7 separate regions of the Homo sapiens genome follow, and all the other regions are linked to region 6. Evidence: promoter capture Hi-C in 16 types of primary human blood cells and fetal thymus (Javierre and others, 2016). All regions are on one chromosome and are shown on one strand. The core of a region is centred on a gene start or on the middle of the fragment in contact, and the rest is flanking DNA. Distances in the headings are between cores, read along the strand shown.

What was found. The method cuts DNA at HindIII sites, captures the fragments that hold promoters and counts their contacts. A CHiCAGO score of 5 or more calls a contact.
Region 1: a contact is called between a fragment that was not itself captured here and the fragment with the promoter of VAV3-AS1 in region 6, in 1 of 17 cell types (M1 macrophages). The highest score is 5.4, in M1 macrophages.
Region 2: a contact is called between a fragment that was not itself captured here and the fragment with the promoter of VAV3-AS1 in region 6, in 13 of 17 cell types (megakaryocytes, monocytes, M0 macrophages and 10 more). The highest score is 10.8, in megakaryocytes.
Region 3: a contact is called between a fragment that was not itself captured here and the fragment with the promoter of VAV3-AS1 in region 6, in 3 of 17 cell types (naive B cells, monocytes and total B cells). The highest score is 6.7, in naive B cells.
Region 4: a fragment that was not itself captured here is called in contact with the fragment with the promoter of VAV3-AS1 in region 6 in 3 of 17 cell types (monocytes, M1 macrophages and non-activated CD4 T cells); the score reaches 6.3 in monocytes.
Region 5: a fragment that was not itself captured here is called in contact with the fragment with the promoter of VAV3-AS1 in region 6 in 16 of 17 cell types (total B cells, naive B cells, total CD8 T cells and 13 more); the score reaches 17.5 in total B cells.
Region 7: a fragment that was not itself captured here is called in contact with the fragment with the promoter of VAV3-AS1 in region 6 in 9 of 17 cell types (M0 macrophages, M1 macrophages, activated CD4 T cells and 6 more); the score reaches 7.4 in M0 macrophages.

Annotation. Positions count from the first base shown.
Region 1 is chr1:108,177,377-108,180,076 of GRCh38, forward strand. The region is part of intron 3 of SLC25A24 (solute carrier family 25 member 24); the gene reads right to left. Among named protein-coding and RNA genes, the nearest start is that of SLC25A24, 22 kb to the right of the region's middle. The HindIII fragment of the contact is 4,417 bases long and covers 1-2,700 here.
Region 2 is chr1:108,136,736-108,139,480 of GRCh38, forward strand. It overlaps SLC25A24 (solute carrier family 25 member 24), which reads right to left. Exons shown (of 10, transcript NM_013386.5): 9 at 2,323-2,473; 10 at 1-102. Among named protein-coding and RNA genes, the nearest start is that of SLC25A24, 62 kb to the right of the region's middle. The HindIII fragment of the contact is 1,415 bases long and covers 609-2,023 here.
Region 3 is chr1:107,739,475-107,742,174 of GRCh38, forward strand. The region is part of intron 15 of VAV3 (vav guanine nucleotide exchange factor 3); the gene reads right to left. Among named protein-coding and RNA genes, the nearest start is that of MIR7852, 160 kb to the right of the region's middle. The HindIII fragment of the contact is 4,265 bases long and covers 1-2,700 here.
Region 4 is chr1:108,153,166-108,155,876 of GRCh38, forward strand. It overlaps SLC25A24 (solute carrier family 25 member 24), which reads right to left. Exons shown (of 10, transcript NM_013386.5): 6 at 1,818-1,970. Among named protein-coding and RNA genes, the nearest start is that of SLC25A24, 46 kb to the right of the region's middle. The HindIII fragment of the contact is 3,573 bases long and covers 1-2,711 here.
Region 5 is chr1:107,802,244-107,804,943 of GRCh38, forward strand. The region is part of intron 2 of VAV3 (vav guanine nucleotide exchange factor 3); the gene reads right to left. Among named protein-coding and RNA genes, the nearest start is that of MIR7852, 94 kb to the right of the region's middle. The HindIII fragment of the contact is 8,884 bases long and covers 1-2,700 here.
Region 6 is chr1:107,962,965-107,965,732 of GRCh38, forward strand. It overlaps VAV3-AS1 (VAV3 antisense RNA 1), which reads left to right and starts at 1,479. Exons shown (of 3, transcript NR_046653.1): 1 at 1,479-1,540. It overlaps VAV3 (vav guanine nucleotide exchange factor 3), which reads right to left and starts at 2,216. Exons shown (of 27, transcript NM_006113.5): 1 at 1,702-2,216. The coding sequence starts at 1,905. RefSeq lists enhancers at 1,227-1,356, 2,703-2,768. The HindIII fragment of the contact is 9,456 bases long and covers 1-1,496 here.
Region 7 is chr1:108,195,350-108,198,213 of GRCh38, forward strand. The region is part of intron 1 of SLC25A24 (solute carrier family 25 member 24); the gene reads right to left. Among named protein-coding and RNA genes, the nearest start is that of SLC25A24, 3.6 kb to the right of the region's middle. The HindIII fragment of the contact is 3,460 bases long and covers 1-2,864 here.

The sequences.
Region 1 (2,700 bases), core at 31-2,530, 210 kb after region 6:
AACAATAAGCAAAATGGTAGTACAAAGTCCTTACTTATCAATAATTACCTTGAACATGAATGGATTAAATTATCCAATCAAAAAACACAGTGTCTGAGTGGATTAAAAAAACTAGATCCAACTATATGCTGCCCATGACAGACTCATTTCATCTGTAAAAATACACACAGACTGATGGTGAAGGAATGGAAAAAGATATTCCATGGAAACAGAAACCAAAGGAGAGCAGGAGTAACTTTACTTGTATCATATAAAACAAACTTTAAGTCAGAAGTTGTAAAGGAGAAACAAAGTTCCTATATAATGATAAAAGGGTCAATTCAATAAGAGGATATAATAGTAAGTTATATGAAGGTACTTTTACTCCACTCCTCCCATTTTAAATTTTCAGTGTCACAATTTATATATTTTATATTGCATATCCCTTAATAAGTTATGTAGCTATTGTTTTTTATAAATATATATGAACCCAACATCAGAGCACCTAAAGATAAATACCAAACATTGGCCAGGGGTGGTGGCTCACACCTGTAATCCCAGCACTTTGGGAGGCCAAGGCGGGTGGATCATGAAGTCAAGAGATCAAGACCATCCTGGCCAACATGGTGAAACCCCGTCTTTACTAAAAATACAAAAATTAGCTGGGCGTGGTGGCATGCGCCTGTAGTCCCAGCGACTCGGGAGGCTGAGGCAGGAGAATCGCTTGAACCGTGAGACGGGGGCTGCAGTGAGCCGAGACCCTGCCACTGCACTCCAGCCTGGTGACAGAGTGAGACTCCGTCTCAAAAACAACAACAACAACAACAACAACAAATAAAATAAAATAAAAACCATTAATACGTCTGAAAGGAGAGAGAGACTGCAATACAGCAATAGTAGGGGACTTCAACACCCTACCTTCAGCAATAGACAAATCATCTCAACAGAAAATCAGTAAGAAACATCAGACTTAAACTATACTCTAGAACAAATGGACAGATCAGACATAAAACATTTCACCTAATGGCAAGAGAATACACATTCTTCTCAACTGCACATGGAACATGCACCAGGGGATATCATATGTTAGGCCACAAAACAAGTCTTAACAAATTTAAGCAGAATGAAATCATATCAAGTTTCTTTTCCGACCACAATAATAAAAAACTAGAAATCAGGCCAGGCGCGGTGGCTCACGCCTGTAATCCTAGCACTCTGGGAGGCCGAGGCGGGCAGATCACGAGGCCAGGAGATCAAGACCATCCTGGCTAACACAGTGAAACCCCGTCTCTACTCAACATACAAAAAATTAGCCGGGCGTGGTGGCGGGTGCCTGTAGTCCCAGCTACTCGGGAGGCTGAGGCAGGAGAATGACGGGAACCCGGGAGGCGGAGCTTGCAGTGAGCCAAGATCGGGCCACAGCACTCAAGCTCGAGGACAGAGTGAGACTCCGTCTCAAAAAAAAAAACAACAACTAGAAATCAGTAACAGAGGTGCTTCAGCAAATTCACAAATACATGGAAATTAAACAACATGCTCCTGAATGATCAGTGGGTCAATGAAGAAACTGAAAGCAAAATTCAAAAATTTCCTGAGATGAAAAAAAATGGAAACACATAATACCAAAACCCATGGAACACAGTAAAAGCAATTTTAAGAGCAAAGTTTATGGCAGTAAATGCCTACATAAAAACAAAAAACCTCAAATAAACAACCAAAAAACCCCAATAGACATTTTTCAAAGACATACAAATGGCCAAAAAGTACAAAAAAAAAAAAAAAGCTCGATATCACTAATTACCACAGAAATGCAAATAAAAGCCACAATGAGATATCACCTCATACTACACTTAGAATGACTATTACCAAAGAGACAAAAGATAACAAGTGTTGGCAAGTATGTAGAGAAAAGGGAACTTTTGCACCCTGTTGGTGAGGAGTTAAACTAATACAGCCATTATGGAAAGCAGTATGGAGTTCCTTTAAAAATTAAATATAGAACTACCATATGATCCTGCAATCCCACCACTGTATGTATGTGTGTGTATACATATATATATACACATATATAAAATGAAATCAATATGTCAAAGAGCCATGTGCATTCCCATGTTCATTATAGCACTATTCACGATAGCCAAGATACGGAATCAACCTAAGTGTCCACCAATGCATGAAGAGAGAAAATGTGCTATATATATACAATAGAAAACTATTCGGCCATTAAAAAAAGAAGGAAATCCTGTTATCTGTAACAATATGAATGAAATAAGCCAGGTAAAGACAAATAAATACTGCATGATCTCACTCATGTGGAATCAGAAAAAGTTAATCTCATAGAAGCAGAGAGCAGAATACTTTGGGAGTCGGGTATGGTTTGTGTTAAAGGACACACAATTTCAGCTTGACATGAGGAATAAGTTCAAGAGCTCCACTATACAACATGAAGACTACAATTAATAATAATATATTATATTCTTGAAAAATACTAAGAGAATGGATGTAAAGTGTTCTCACCACAGAAATCATTAAGTATGAGATGTATCATGTTAATTAGCTAGACTTAGTCACTCCACAATGTACATATACTTCAAAACATCATGTTGTACATGATAAATACATGTAATTCTGTCAATTTAAAAATAAATAAATGTTTTAAGTCACTGAATTGTATACTTTAGAAAAGTGAATTTATGGCATGTGAATTACATCTCAGTAAAG
Region 2 (2,745 bases), core at 66-2,565, 170 kb after region 6:
AGTTTGGGGTGATGCCTCTGTAAAGTCCTGGTATTCCTTCTTTGGAAATAATTCGTCGAAAGAGGCCAACCATATTCAGCTGTGGGGAACCTTCTAACATGGCTAAAAAATAAAAAAAGAGGGTAATTTAATATTCAAGTATGTTTCATTATTATGACAACAAACAATTATGACCCAGAATGATATTCTAAAATACAGTAAAAGGACAACATTTATTCCAAGAAGCCCAAGACAACATCCCTTTTATGATCCTCTTTGTATAGCACCTAACAGTGAGTGTCCTAACTATAGTAATGATGGTAATAATAGTTATTTATTAATTACTATGTTCTAAATACTGGGTTAATTACCTTCCATACCAATCTTGCAAGGTAAATGTTATATCAATTTTGTAAGTGAGCAATTGGAGGCTTAGAAAGATGGAGAAATTTGTCCTAAAAAAATCTAAGTAGAAAATGGTAGGGCTGAGATCCAATGGTCTGACTCTAAAGCTGGTACACTTTCCACCACCCCACAGTGCTGCTGCTGCCTCCTTCTTACTAGACAAGCGCTGAAGAGAGAACAGTTAAATCTCAGGAAGTAAGGGGAGTATGGAAGAAGCTCTGGGAAGCTTGGGAAAAAGCACAAAGACCTGGGCCTTGGAAATGACCTCAACAAGCAGGAAGAGAAAGCGAAAACCAGTGTTGCTGGCACAACCAAGACAACGGGAGGAGTACCATGTGCTATGGAGATGCAGCCAATTGTTGTATGTGGTTATTACACAGAGAGTGAACAAAGTGGGGCTAGATTATTAAAGGCTTTGAAATTCCCACTAACAACTTTGGAACTGACACCGAAAGGCTGCAAAGATGTCTGAACAGATGTAAAATGATCAGACTTTTAGGTCAGAAATGACAGTCTATCAGCCATAGACAATCTATCAGCCGTATCAGTCATGCAAAGTTCTGGATCAGAGCTGGCAGACAGGAGGGTTAGAATCAGACTGCATGTGTCTGAATTTCAGTCCCACTATTTACCACAGGTATAATCTTGTGGGAGTTACTTAAATTCTCTCTGCCCCAGTTGCTCATCTGAAAAATGGGGATAATGTTAGTATTCCCATCCCCAAGATGGTTATGATGGTGAAATGAGAGAATACACAAGAAACGTGTAGTTCACTACTTTGTGTTTTTCTCTACAGCCATGACTGTCTCTCAGCTCCTTAAATACACCATGTTGGTGCCTGCCTCAGTGTCTTCACACATGCTTTCCCTCAACTGGAATGTTTTCTGTTCCCACTCCACTGGCCTGTGCCCAGCTAACTCCCACTCATCTTTCCAGTCTCAGCTTCACTGACAGCATTCTGCAGCGCCCAAGTTAGGTTATAGCTCCTTGCTCTGTGCTCCCCTAACAAAAGAGGAGTTGGTTTAACCAGGTTGTTTACTTGCTGGACATAACGTCTTCTCTACTCTACACTGGCGGGGCCACACCTGACTTGTTGACTGCTCTACCCCTAGCATCTGGCAGTGTCTAGAATGGGACAATGGCTCAGGGAGTATTTGCCAATTAGTTACTGACTGCTTGGCTGGGGTTGCTGTGGCTGGCACTTGGAAGGGAGGTTGGGAATAGAGCTGTAGATGCCCAAGGTGTACTACTTAAGAAAACAATGGATAAGACTGACCAGGGAAAGCATCAAAGAGAAAAGAAAGGCATTTGAATGCATACTTTAATAGAGTGGGGATAGCAATAAAAGCCAGCAAATGGTAAAAGTTATCAATGGGCTGGCAGAACAACCAGGATGGTACAGTGTAATCAAAGCCAACAATGGAGACTGTCACAGTGAGGAGGAATCACAGCTCAAAACTTGTAGGGTCTACGCAACACTAAAAAATGATTCCAACCACCATTTACCAAAAATTTAACAAACCCAAGATGCTTTATTTATATTGTTGGTAATTCTTACAACACTGTACAATTTTCATTCCCATTAAAAACCCCAAGAAGTCTGAGGCAAGGATCTGAACCCAAATCCATCAGATACTAAAGCTTATAATCTTAAAACGTGCATGTAACACAGTCAAAAAAAATAGTACTCTGTTTATCTATAAGGCATATGTATGCATACAGTACATATGCAATGCTTCTGTCGCATTAAAATTTCATGACGAGGGAGCATTTAGAAAAAGAATTTCTGAAAAGATTCCTTAAGGAGGCAATAATGAAAAAAAGGTTGAGAAATACTGTCTTAAAACTACAGTCTGCATCTTAGTAGAACTTGGAGTTCTAAAAGCACATTACTGGTGCAGCACTTTTATCGGTGTGGTTCTGTAATCAAAAATTCACCTTGAGCCTGCATGCGAGTTCTCACCAAAGCCAATGGGTAGCTGGCCAGCTGACCACAGGTGCTGGATAAGGCACCGCATCCCAGCAACACCATGACTCCAGGGTTTACAGAATCTTTTGCAAAATTATCCAGCCAATAGGACTTCAAGAGCTGCCAGAGAAATAAAGAAGAAAATAATTAACGAACTCTACAACTTCAACGTAAACATTTTCACAGCTATTCTCAACCTCATGAGAAGCCCCGTTTCTGCAGGATGAGGCCACGCATTTGCAGAAGCAGCAGGCACTGCAGGAGGCGGTGACTCTGTGGAGAGGTGGGAGGCCACTGGGGGTGCGGAACACATGAGGTTTGCACCGGTTACTGACATTCTTCTAAACAAACGTGAACTGCGCAGCAAACGCTGCAGGATCTAAAGAACACCT
Region 3 (2,700 bases), core at 156-2,655, 220 kb before region 6:
TCAACTTGGGAGATTAATGTGAATAGGTCAGCACCATGAGACTCTCAGCACAGCCCAGAGGCAACTGATGGTGCCGGCATGGATTCTGCACCCATAAACAAATTCTTCACATTAAAAACTGGTCATGCAAGCATTTTAAGGAGGAAGAATGTGAGGTTTTTAGAGAAAATAATTTCTCAACAAAAAACAATCCAAAAGGGCTGACAAATATACAGACAGTTTATAGACATATTTTGGCCATTATGCCAGTAAGGCCTCCAGTTTCCAAACAGACACTGACGGGCTTTGGACACTAAGAAAATGCCAAAGCAGGTGACAAAATGTCATCCCCACATCCAGCTCATCCAGGAAGGCTCCCCCTCTGGCCAACTCTTGATACCACCACAGGCTTCCTCTACCCCTTCTGGTTTTCCTTAGTATGCCCTCCAGGGAGGAAATTTCAGAGTAAATAACAGGCACAAATGGTATTGCTGCTGGGAAGAAAATGCATCAAGAGCACAAAGAGCATCACTGATTAAACAATGCTTCTTGGCTGGGCATGGTGGCTCACGCCTGAAATCCCACCACTTTGGGAGGCCAAGATGTGCGGATCACCTGAGGTCAGAAGTTTGAGACCAGCCTGGCCAACATGGCAAAACCCTGTCTCTACTAAAAATACAAAAATTACCTGGGTGTGGTGTTGCGTGCCTATAATCACAGCTACTCAGGAGGCTGAGGCAGGAGAATCACTTGAACCCAGGAGGTGGAGGTTGCACTGAGCTGAGATCGCGCCACTGTACTCTAGGCTGGGCGACAGAGCAAGACTCCATCTCAAAAAAAAAAAAAAATGCTTCTTGTTGATATGGCTGACTACTGAATAGAGAAAAAGTTACTACATGGCTGCTACTGGCCTGGACTCCGTGGGACCTGTCCTTTTCAATAAACCATGTGATAAAACTTAATGAAACTAGAAATTGAATAGATACAGTCTGTTCTGTGAGCAGACATTTTTAATATTCAATTAGACAGTAAAATAATAATGACAAATATAGATAATTCATCCAGGTTTATAGTTTTTTTTGGTGGAGTTAAAAAACATTTTGGAGCTAAATCATCATGATAGCCTAAGCAGGAATCACTGATACTAAAAATAAAAGAAAAAAAAAATCACACTTCTACAAAAGGCCACAGCGTGGTTTCATTATAGCTGAGATCATTTTGTGGTAACATATATTAACTAATTCTCTAGGCCTAAGTCATCTTATTTGTGCTGTAGGACAGGGGTCACTAACTACAGCCCACGGGCCAAATACAACCACTAGTGTTTTACTGGAACATACCACACTCATTCATTTATGTGAATCTATGGCTGCATTCGTAGTTAACTATGACAGAATTGAGTAGCTCTGACAGATACCATATGGCCCACAAAGCCTAAACCATTTACTCTCTGGCCCCCTACAACAAAATGTTGCTGGCCCTTGTTCTAAGAGACGAAATTTGTTGTCTCAACAGAAACTTATTTAAACATTTGAGAAGATCCAAACAAACCTCCTGATGAAGAAAATGAAAAAGAGGAGAGAGGAGGGGACAGGAAGGGAAGAGAGGACTAGCAGTACTCATAGCGGTAGTAGTTGCTGTTTCTTAGGCCTGCTTTAGAACTCCGACAGCTTCATGCAGATACTGTAGGCATCTCCATCTGGGCAAAAATATTAACAAAGTGAATCTTTTAAATTTTCACATTTGAATGTCAAATTTGTTGCCAAACCTTTAATAATAGAAACATGGGTCTTTCAAAAATTAACAACAAAGACCAATTTCTTTTGAAACACTCACTGGAGAGCTTAATTTTGAATTGCTGGGTAACATGACATGGCTTTATTCCTCTAAATCCCAGGATGGGTGTGGGAGGCACTCTGTCCGGCCTGACTAGCCGCTCCCTGAAGGGGTGGTGAGGCAAGGGGTGCTGGTCCTCTGCAGGGAGCAGTGCAGGGTGGGGAGGGTCATGCTCCAGGTGCTGCTGAGGGTGTCAAAGACCAGTGAAACAGCCGAGGGAACACATGCATGACATAAGCCCCACTGTGACGCCTGTTGGCATTACAAAAAATAGACTGTGAATGGATTTCAGGTGGAAAATGGAAAAGGCATAGATCCTTTCTCCTGGGTCTGACAGGTGGGAAAATTAAAAAAATATATACACACACACAAAAACCAAAAAAGCCACAGTGAATCAAGAACATGGACAGAGAGAGAAATATGAGAATGTAGGTGGGCCTTGAGCACCTCAGACCCTAAAACTGGAATCTGGGCTAACCTCTGTCTACATCTCCAAGGAGCAAGGAGGCCCCAAATACCATATGACTTGCATATTTTCTACAATTTTCAATATACAAATGAGTGAGATCAGTGCTACTTAAATGACAGGCTAGATAAAATGAGAATTGCCCATCCTGCTTGGTTCCAAAAATTTTATCCAAGCAAGCCAGACTACTAGAAAGAAACATCTGGAAGGGCTAGCATCAGGTTAGGTGTCTATAAAAATGCCTTAGCAAAACTGCAATTACATAGTTGAAGGCTTACATAAAAGAGAAATACTCATCTATGGCATCAACTTCAAGAATATCAAAAAATCTAATGCTGCTGGTAGAGAACATGTTTTTCAATGTCTCCTACCTAAGGATCCACACTATATAGCCTTCTTACCATACAGGAAAAACTCTC
Region 4 (2,711 bases), core at 50-2,549, 190 kb after region 6:
ACTACCCCACACTATTACACTGTCAATGATACAATGACACTACTATGGTAATGACAACCCACAGAGAACACAGGTTTACCCCATACTGATGATGTGTTTGACAGAGCTACATACCAGGTTGAAAAGATCTTTTTCTTAGTTTCCTAAAGTACTAGCTATTCAAGGAACAAAATCTATCTGAATCTAAAAGTGACCTAGTTACATACTCTGGGAAATTTGAGAATATATACAGCCTATTTACCCCGAAGTAATTTACAATCCACTGGGAAAACAATGGGTTTTCCATCATCCAATGAAAAATGGGATATTCTGCAATTCAGCACTCGAGGGAGGCTGGACAGGGGAGGAACTGGCTTTGATTGAGATGCTTAGTATATGCTTGTCACAGGAAGGTGGCTTTTAGAGAGCCCCGAGGGATGAATGGACCTTCAGCAGGAGGAGAGAAAACAGCACCATAGGTCCAGAGCCCATAAGAACACTACACCACACTGTGTAGACAGCTTTCTCTTCATGTCTAAGAAAGTTAGTGTGCAGAAATCACAATACTATAAAGAGGTCTCAGGAAGGAGCTTGGGTGGACAGAAGCAGAGGATGCCTGTTGGTGGTATCCAAGGTAAGAATCTGACAAATGGCATAAAGCAAAATGTGCATATTTGCTTGCAATACCCATGGACTTTTTCAAAAATACCAAACTTCTTGCATACTGAAATAACTGCATTGAGTATTTATTTATTTTAGGCTGTGGCTTTCCTATCATAAAATCCAAGTATGTGGTCAGAATAACCTAAGGGTATCTCAAACATTAGCCCTTAATAATCATGATTTGAATCTTCAAACCTTCATATAAGGAAAATAGCCTTCCCAAGGATAGGTTCTAATTAAAATCCTGGAGACTAGATTTTCTTTAATTTTTTTTTTTTTTTTGCTTCTCTATTTCCTAGGCAAAGAAAAGGATACCACTGGACTTCGTAAACTTCTCAAGAGTATTCTCTTGCTCAAGAACAAAACACTCTCCAGAATAATCTAAAATCTACATGGAATAATACAAAAACTATGGGGGGGGAGTTGAATTTCAAGGCCCTTACAGTCCTTGATAAACAATGATGGAATAAATAATGGAAAACATAATCTGTGGCTGCTCAACTAGACAGTTCTGCTAATGACCATAAAGAGAACCCAAACTCTAAAACTTACCTCTGTATTTCCCCTTTACATTGAGTTAGGCTGAAGCAATAGCTCAAATAATCCAAGTTAACAAAAGCCGACAGAGAAGTGATTCAGAGGTAAATGCATTTGTTCATTCATTGACTCATTCAACACTCGCTTGAAACTTATCACATGCCAAGCTCTGTCTAGGTGCTGGAGTACATGGGGAAGAAGCCACGCCCCTGCCTTCATGGAGGTGTCACTCCAAACTCAGCTCAATTTTACAGCAACGTCAAATTACACAAAGGACTTCAACTTATAGTTTTCCTTCCAGAGGTTAGATTGTGACACTTTCATAAAACTTATGTTAGTGTGCTGCTTCTGCTCAGGATTCAGAATGAATAAACTAAAATTCTACCCTTCCTTTAAGAACTACTTAGAAAAAAAAAACTTTATAAATAATATGATGAATTAAGAATCCCATAACTTGGTCATGAGAAATCTCTGATTTTATTTAGTCTAATCTCCTATAAGTGATCCTCCTTATGGAGTATATGTGAAAGATTATCATGTATTAAAACAAGAATCCCAAAAGCATTATACATTAACATTTATTGAATCCGTTTACTAACTCCTCTTTGTTAATAAATTCCACGGGTGATAACAATTACCTGTTCATATGCCCAGAATTTAACAGCTGTCTCAGGAGCAATTTTGATGACGTTTGTACCATTTCCCCTCCAAAGCGAGCGGATACCTCCTTCTTTTACCATCTGTCGAAAGCCACCAAATATGTTCATTTTGTCTGATTTTGAACCGTGAACCTAAAAATAAAAGCAGAATGATATAAAATGCTGGTGGCATATTACTATTACTTTTTCTAGAACAACCACACAATCTTTTTCAATACCCTTTCTAACTGCAAGAAGATATATTTGAAAATAAAATATAGAAAGGTTGAAAAATATATATAATGATGAGAGGGAGTATTGCCATGATTTTAGAGGCCTGTCTCTGACTCTAAAACTAAGAATAATTGGTATCTTCAGTGTGAGAAAGCAGAGAGAGAAGACAAGAAGAGTATTAAAATTATGAACAACCTTCATAAGATAATATTAACTAAATTATGTATCAGGCAATGGAACACCCTTTGAAACATGAACAGGCTCAGTTAAAGGGAAATAAAAAAGTATACTGCAGATAATAATATTATATTATTACATATAATTTAATGTATGTATATTATTACATATAATTTAAAGTAATATGTTACTCCCTCTCCTCAAGAAGTAGTACAGACATGAACTGTAAATGGGTCTGAAATGGTTTGGATATTGTGTATATCAGGGCTACCAACACTGGAATGCATACAGCCTGAAACCAAAAATAAAAATTGCACCCTCTTTGGCATATTTTGAGGCCCTCTCTAGGCAATAAATTCATTACAACATGTACCCATCCTGTGAGTACTGATAAATTACTTGGCTTATACTACAGATGTGGTAGTCACTTAAAAATACTGTACCTTATGACCACCTACAGATAAAAACTGATTAAGTCCAATA
Region 5 (2,700 bases), core at 200-2,699, 160 kb before region 6:
GTTTTTTTTGTGGACTCTTTAGATTTTTCTAAATAAATGTTCATGTCATCTGCATATAACGATAATTTGACTTCTTCCTTTCCAATATGGATGGCCTTTATTTCTTTCTCTGACCTCACTGCTCTGGCCAGGACTTCCAGTATTATGTTGAATAAAAATGGGCATCTCTTTTTCCAGATCTTAGCAAAAAGGCCTTCAATTTTTCCCCATTCAATATGCTATTGACTATGGGTTTGTCATATATGGCCTTTATTATTTGGAATTATGTTCCTTCTATTCTTAACGTTTGTTGAGGATTTTTATCATAAAGTGATGTTAAATTTTATCAAACGTTTTTTCAGCATCTATTGAAAAGATCTTATAGTTTTGTTCTTGGTTAGGTAAAGAGGATACATTACATTTATTAATTTGCATATGTTGAACTATCATATCCTAGGATGCATCCCACTTGATCATAGTGAATGGTCTTTTTAATGTGTTGCTGAATTCAGTTTGCTAATATTGTGTTGAGGACTTTTGTATCTGTGTTTATCAGTGATATTGGCCTGTAGTCTACTTTCTGTTGTGTGCTTGTCTGGTTTTGGTATTAGGGTGATGTTAGCTTTGTGGAATAAGTTTGAAAGTATTTCTTCCTCTTCAGTTTTTTTTTTTTTTGAAGAGTTAGAGTTGAATTGGTATCAGTTCTTTAAATGTTTGGTAGAATTTAGCAGTGAAGCCATCAGGTCCTGGGCTTTTCTTTAATGAGAGACTTTTTATTACGGCTTCAATCTTGTTGCTCCTTATTGGTTTGCTGAAGTTTTCTATTTCTTCGTGGCTTAATCTTGTCAGGTTGTATGTGTCCAGGCATTTATCTGTTTCTTCTAGTTTTCCCAATTTGTTGGCCTATACTTATAATAGTTTCTAATGATTCTTTTTATTTCTGTGGTCTCAGTTGTTATGTCGCCTTTCTTGTTTCTGATTGTATTCATTTGGGCCTTCTCTCTTTTTTGGTAGTCTATTTAAAGGTTTGTCAATATTGTTTATCTTTTCAGAAAACCAACTTTTCATTTTTAAGGCTGGGTTTAGTTTGTTCTTGCTTTTCTAGTTCCTTGAGGTGCATTAGTTCATTTGAAGTCTTTATATTTTTTGATGTAGGTATTTACTGCTATAAACTTCCCTCTCAGTACTGCTGTTGCTGTATCCCACAGATTTTGGTATGTCATATTTCCACTTTAATTTGTCTCATGAATTTTAAAAATTTCTTTCTTAATTTATTCATTGACCCTTTGGTCATTTAGGAGCATGTTGTTTAATTTCCATGTGTTTGTCTCATTTCAGAGAGGTTCTTCTTGTGATTGATTTCTAGTTTTATTTCATTGTGGTAAAAAAATACATGTGATATATTGCTCTTTTAAATTTGCTGAGACTTGTTTCCTGGCCTAAGATACGGTGCATTTTGGATGAACTTCCATATGCTAATGAAAATAATGTGTATTCTACAACAGCTGGGTGACACATTCTGTAAAAGTCATTTAGGTCTATTTGGTCTAGTGTAGTAGTTTAACTCTGCTGTTTCTTTGTTGATTTTTTTATCTAGATGATTAATCCATTATTGAGAGTGGAGTGTTAAAGTCCATGACTGTTACTTTATTGCAATCTATCTCTCCCTTCAGATTTACTAATGTTGCTTTTGTGTGCTTTAGTGTTGGATGCATATTTATAATTGTTATATTTTCCTGCTGAATTGACCCCTTATATTATTAATATAGTCACCTTCTCTATTAGGCAGAGTCTAAAGTCTTTGACTAATAATCTGTTTATCTAAGTATAATTATTCCCCCCATTTTTTGGTTTTTACTTGCATAGAATATATTTTTCTATCCCATTACTTTCAGCCTACATGTGTCTTCATAGGTGAGGTGGGTTTCTTCTAGGAAGCATATAGTTAGGTCTTGTTTCTTTATGTATTCATCCAGCCTATGTCTTTTAATTGGAGAACTGCATCTGTTTATACTCAGTGCTATTACTGATGGGTAAGGACTTACTGGTGTCATTTTGTTGCTTGTTTTCTGGTTGCTTTGTAACTCCGTTCTTCCTTTTTTACTGTCTTCCTTTGTGGTTAAGTGACTTCCTCTGGTAACATGTTTTAATTCATTGCTTTTTCTAATTTTAGCATATCTATTATAGGTTTTAACATGTAGGTTACCATGAGGCTTACAAAAAAATCTTGTAGACATAACAAGTCATTTTACAGAGATGACAACTTATCACAGATCACCCCAAAAAAGAAACAAGAGAGAACTTTAATCTTTATTTTAACTCCATTCTCTCCACATTTTTGTTTTCTCAATTTACACATTTTTGTATTGACTATCTCAACAGGTTTCTGTAGCTATTATTCTTTTTGATACTTTGTGCTTTAGGATTCATACTAAAGTTATGAGTGTATTGTACATCATAATTGCAGTATTAAAGTATTCTGGGGCTGTATCCGAACTTCAGTTTTACCAGTGGGTTTTATACTTTCAAATATTTTTGGTTTTTTTTGTTTGTTTGTTTTGCACATTAATCTTTTCTTTCAGAATGAAAAACTCTCTTTAGCATTTCTTGTAAGACAAGTCTGGTGGTGGTGAATTCTCTAAACTTTTGTCTGTCTGGCAAAGATTATCTCTCTTTCATATGTGAAGGATAGCGTTGTTGAAACAATACTCTTGGATGGCA
Region 6 (2,768 bases), core at 229-2,728:
TTTTCATTAATGATGCTTATAATGACAATCTTTGGTCATCAGAAAGATTAAATTACATCTAACATAAGAGGAGAAGAGTGAAACACATTCAAAACGATTCTCATCCATTGTTAGCATTCAAATAAAGGCTTCGAGGTTTAAAAAGGTCTTCAGCTGTCCAGAAAACGTGATTATTGAGAGCAACTGCTGAGAGTTCCAGGAAACAAGTTCCAGGAAATGTGCACAGTACTGTACTCCCTACTGGTGGGCCAAGGCATCCTGACCCACGCTGCCTCCTGAGGCTACAGGCAAAGTGGAAAATGGGGATGTGTGAGAGTAGCTAACTGCAGCTCCCACCATAATAGAAAAGTCTGCCAAACCCCTCAAAGGAATTTCCAGAGTTGAGACAACTCTGAAGGGGTACCGAGAGGTAGCAATCACCATGCATGTTTATGGGGGTATAAAATAATTTACCTCACTTTTAAATACGTATGGCTCTCCCCACTTCCATGCCTGTTCTTTCTTAGGGACTGCCCACCAGCAGGTTGAAGGCAAACAGGCAAGGAATGCAGAATCTGAAGTGCAGGGGACCCTGATGAAACACTGACACCAAGAATCACAGATGACTGTGTGTGCTCTAACTTTAAATACATACTTATTAAATCATATAAAGTCCGTTCCTTCTTAAAAGGCGCTGCTCTGGTTGCTAAGTAGCTGAGGCTCTGCGTCATAGAGGATTAGTGCTGAAATGTGTCAGGGAGAGGGCTCTGTCCTCTCCCTTTTAAGTTGAAAGCAGTTTGGTTTTTTGTTTTGTTTTAACATTCTGAAAGAGAAAGAGGCTCTGAACCGAGTTTAACATCCTTCTGTACAAAAATTTTCCGACAGGACAAATAAACTACTCTTCCACTGAACTGTGACTTTTGAGCTGACTCTAGGGTGCACCCAACCTTCCAGAGGTGTCTGGCTTAACCCTCAAAGAGGCAGCTCCAGCCCCAGGAGCCGACCGGCACCACAGCACCTGAGCAGGGCACTGCAGGAAGGAAAGCGGAATCTCTAGTGAAACTTCTCATTTCCTGTCGCTGCTGAGAGAGGCTGGACTCGCTCCTTCTCACATGGCTTAGGAAGAGCTGTAAACGGGAGCTTGCCGGCTGGCCACCAGCTCAGGGGCCCTGGGGGCGGCCTCCGGGTTCTGCTCCCTGTTCTTCCCTTTGACCAATGTCACTCCTGGACAGATAACGGGACCAAACGCCCTTCACTTCCTCGAGTCCTCATGTATGTCATGGTTCCTCTTTTAGGAAAACATGAGTACAAGACGCAAAGCAAAAGAAGAGACTAAAGGCAAATTACCCCATCACCTCGTTTCGTCCCTCCCCTTCGTTATTATAGAAGAGCTTGATCAAATTCCCTTTGTCGCGCCACACACACGCAGAGTAGGTGAAGGGCACCCTAAGACAACTTATTTCTTTCCCGCCTCACAGAAAGCCTTTACGAAATCCTCACACCATCTCCGGACGCAAAGCTTTCGCATTCAGCTTGAGGAGCTAAACCATTTCAAGCCAAGGTAGGAAACGCCAAAGTGGTGCCGAAGTGGTCCCAAAGCAGAAGGCTGGGAAGCAGGGCAAGCTCAGCGCACCTAGACGTTTGCATTTACACAAAGAAATTAGCCGCATGATTAATGGGAGCTGCCGGCTGGAGGCGGGGCGCCCGTGCCGGCCTCCTCACCTGGGACATCTGCGGCCTCAGGTTGATCTCCTTCAGGTTGATGGAGTGCGCCCGGAGGTTGTTAAGCAGCTGGCAGAGCAGGACTCCATCGCGGAGGGTCTGCGCAAGGTCGAACACCTGAGCCGAGTCCCAGGTCACCCGGTGGTTGGTGGGCAGCACCTTGCAATGGATGAGCCACTGCGCGCACTGCTTCCACGGCTCCATGCCCGACGGCTCCGGGACGCGGCTGGGCCGGGGCGGGCGGCAAGGATGCGGCCGCCGCCGCCGCCGCCGCGGTTCCTCCGCGCCCCGCCGACGCCAACAGCCGCCGGCCCTTTCCCCGCGCGGGATCGAGGGAGCAGGAGCCGCGGCTGACGGGTCGCGGGCGCCGCGCTAGGCTCGGCTCCGGTCCCGGCCCGGGTGCGCCGCGACCCGGCCGCCGCTGCAGCGAGTCCCGCGCGCTCTCCGTGCGCCCCGGCCGGCTCGGCGGCGGCTGCCGCGCACAGGCTTCCGACTCCAGCGCCCGGCCCGCCACTGAGCATGCCCAGCACGCCGGCCGGTCTCGCTGCGGTCCGCAAGTCCCCAGACGCGCGGGTGGGAGCGCGCCGGCGGCCGGGGCTGGGGTCTGTGGCCGAGGGCGGGGCGCGGGGGAGGGGCCGGCGGAGGGGGGCGGCGGCCAGAAAGGGGATCCCGCGCCCCCGCCTGCAGCCTTGCGGGGCTCACGCAGCCCCCGGCGTCCTGGGGTCTTCTCTCGGGGCGGCTTCCCGGCTTTGCGGGGAGTGTGGCTGAATACTGTAATACGATGGGGTCCCCCAGGACCCCCTAAACAACAAATGCTCAAAGGAGCGACGGATTAATTGGGGCACCCAGACTCCCCAGAGCAATGAAAAAAGTGCCTAGAGCATCAGTAGAGCACGGCGCTGAAAGTTTTAGAGATCGTCGCCCCCTCGCCCCTTGCAGCTCTATCCCCTCCATTCTCTATAGCTGATTCCTCAGCCTATTCCTCCTAGTTGCCCCTAGTGGTGTTTTGGCACCCTCAAAGTGAGTGAGAGTGCGTGTGTGGAGACGCCTGCGGAAACCGCCCCGAT
Region 7 (2,864 bases), core at 307-2,806, 230 kb after region 6:
GTCAGGGAATATGGCATGTTGGGAGTTTGGAAAGGTGACAAAAGGCTTAGAATGCTACAAAGATAGAAAGGGTATTTTATACCTTACTAAAGAATTCTTCCATTTTTTTCATTCTTTCAGACACTTTATTTCTGCAGAGAAGGATAACATCAAATTTAGAATATAAATCAGGAGAGAACACAAAAGATACAGATTTTATATATTTTAGAACATTTGACAGAAATGTAGTTGGAATTCCATTGTTTTTCTTATACCATAATCTTTCTGTTGTGATGCCCTAAAATTCACCCTGTGATTTCATATCATGTCTTCTTAATATTGTGCCAGAAACCATAACATGTCTGACAATTAAAATATTAAGGAAATGGGCTGGCCATGGTAGCTCATGCCTGTAATCTTAGCACTTTCAGAGGCAGAGGCAGGCAGATCACTAGAGGCCAGGAATTCAAGACCAGCCTGACCAAAATGGCAAAATCCCATCTCTACTAGAAAATACAAAAGTTAACCAGGTGTGGTGGCATGTGCCTGTAATCTCAGCTGCTTGGGAGGCTGAGGCACAAGAATCGCTTGAATCCAGGAAGCAGAGGCTGCAGTGAGCCGAGATCGCACCACTGCACTCCAGCCTTGGTGATAGAGCAAGATTCTGTCTCCAGAAAAAAAAAAAAAAAGCAATATTAATGAAATAAAAATGAAATGAACCCTCTTTGTTAACAGAGGAATTACTTAATGGAGTGAAATCCTGATTCCACTCAATGCAATAAACATTTGCTAAGCTACTATTCTTCTATGTGACTATTTTTTCTGTGATTGTAAATGTAAAAACTTAAAGACAGAATTAAAAAAATCATAGAATGTAAGAGTTAGAATGGCCCTTAAATCAGGTTACCAGTCCACCCACTCCTCTAACATTGGGTGATCATTCAGCATACACTTCATACCCATGGGCACAGAGGTTCCTCAAGAAGTTCACCAGCTAGTAAATGGGATACCACATTTTAAAGGGTTTTTTAACATGAACTTTCATATTCTGCAACATATGACCTTGTTAAAAGCTCTGTCCAGGATGCAGGCAAGATATCTGCATTTTAAGAATAAGAAAGTAAAGCTCCAGTAAGGCTCAAACTTGACAAGGATTACACGGTCAATTTACACCAAGGACGGAACTCTCTTGTAGCTTGCTGCTTCCCTTCTTGCTCTTGATAATTGTCCTAGTCCAACTGGGCTGCTATGACAAAAATACTATTGGCTTACTTAAAAAATAAGCATTGATTTCTTGCAGTTCCAGACACTGGAAGTCCTAGATCGAAGTGCTAGGAGATTTACTGTCTAGTGAGGACCCACTTTCCGGTTCCATGGACCACTGTTTTCTCACTGTGTCCTCACATGGTGGAAGGGGCAAGGAAGGTCTTCCAGGTCACTTTTATACAAGCACTAATCCCATTCATGAAGGCTCCACAGGAAGAAAGAAGATGGGGGTAGAAGGAGGAAGACAAGAGGGAGAAGGAGGTGCGTAAAGAGAAAATAACTGAAGACTTTTAAAAGGAAATAGGATTACTAGACAAGTATAAGAGAATTAGTAATGGTTAAATACTGTATCTCCTTGTTCTCACACTACATTCTACTCTCAGTCTATACCCTTATACTACTGAGTCCTAGGAGAACTTAATGTGAATTTTCTCTAATTTTTAACTTTAATTTTTCACTAATTTCATAGTGAGGAGATTTGGAACATACAGAAAAGAAAGGTCATACCAGAAAAAAAAATGTAGCGCTTTCACTTCCAATTGGTTCTTAATTTTGTCTCAGGACTTGCCTTGAATTCTTTTCTCTTCCCTGGATAATTCTGGAACACTTAGTAATGGTTAGCTATTATATTCCTTATACCTATTTCTACATTCTACTCTTATTTCTACATTCTTTCCATCTAAAATCTAAAGAAACTTAAACAGAAATTTGTTCTCTTCTAAATGCTCAATTCATTACAAATGCTTGGAAACACGGAGATGAGATCAAATCAGATGAAAATTTATAGAGATTTTGCTTCAAGCTGAGTATTTGGCTTAGATACAAACTACTACCTTGAAACTTTCCACCGAAGAGTCACCCCACAGTTCTCATTTCTATGCTCAAGTAGCCAATGTCCTCACTCCTTGACATTACATAAACCCCTGACATGCCTCTGAAATTTTCTCCCATAAAGGTTGACTGTGTAATCCTAATTCTATCCCATGTGTGATGGTTAATTTTATGTATCAACTCGTCTGGACTAAGGGATGCCCAGATAACTGGTAAAACATGATTTCTGGGTGTGTCTGTGAGGATGTCTCTGGAGGAGGGTAGCATTTGAATCAGTAAACCAATTAAAGAAGACTGCCCTCACCAAATGGGTAGGCATAATGCAATCCTGTGGAGGATGTGAATAGAACCAAAAGGCAAAGCAAGTGCTACGTTTTGTTTGTCCCCACAAAAACTCATGTTGAAGTCTGATCCCTGATGTGGCCGTGTTGGGAGGAGGGACCTAGCAGGAGGTGTCAGGGTTACGGAGGCAGATCCCTCATGAATGGCTTGGTGTCATTCTTGCAGTAGTGAGTGAGTTCTCTCTCTCATGAGACTGAATTAGTTCCCTCAGTAATGGATCAGTTCCCTCGAGGCTGGGTTGCTATAAAGCCAGGACACCCCTCGGATTTTGCTTCTTCACACATGTCCACTTCCACTTTGACTTTCCACCATGTTGTGACACAGCAGGAAAGCCCTCCCCAGGAGTCCAGCAGATGCCAGCACCACGCTTCTTAAACTTCCCAGCCTGCGGAACTGTGAGCTAAATAAATGTCTTTTCTTTATAAATTACCCTGTCTCAGATATTC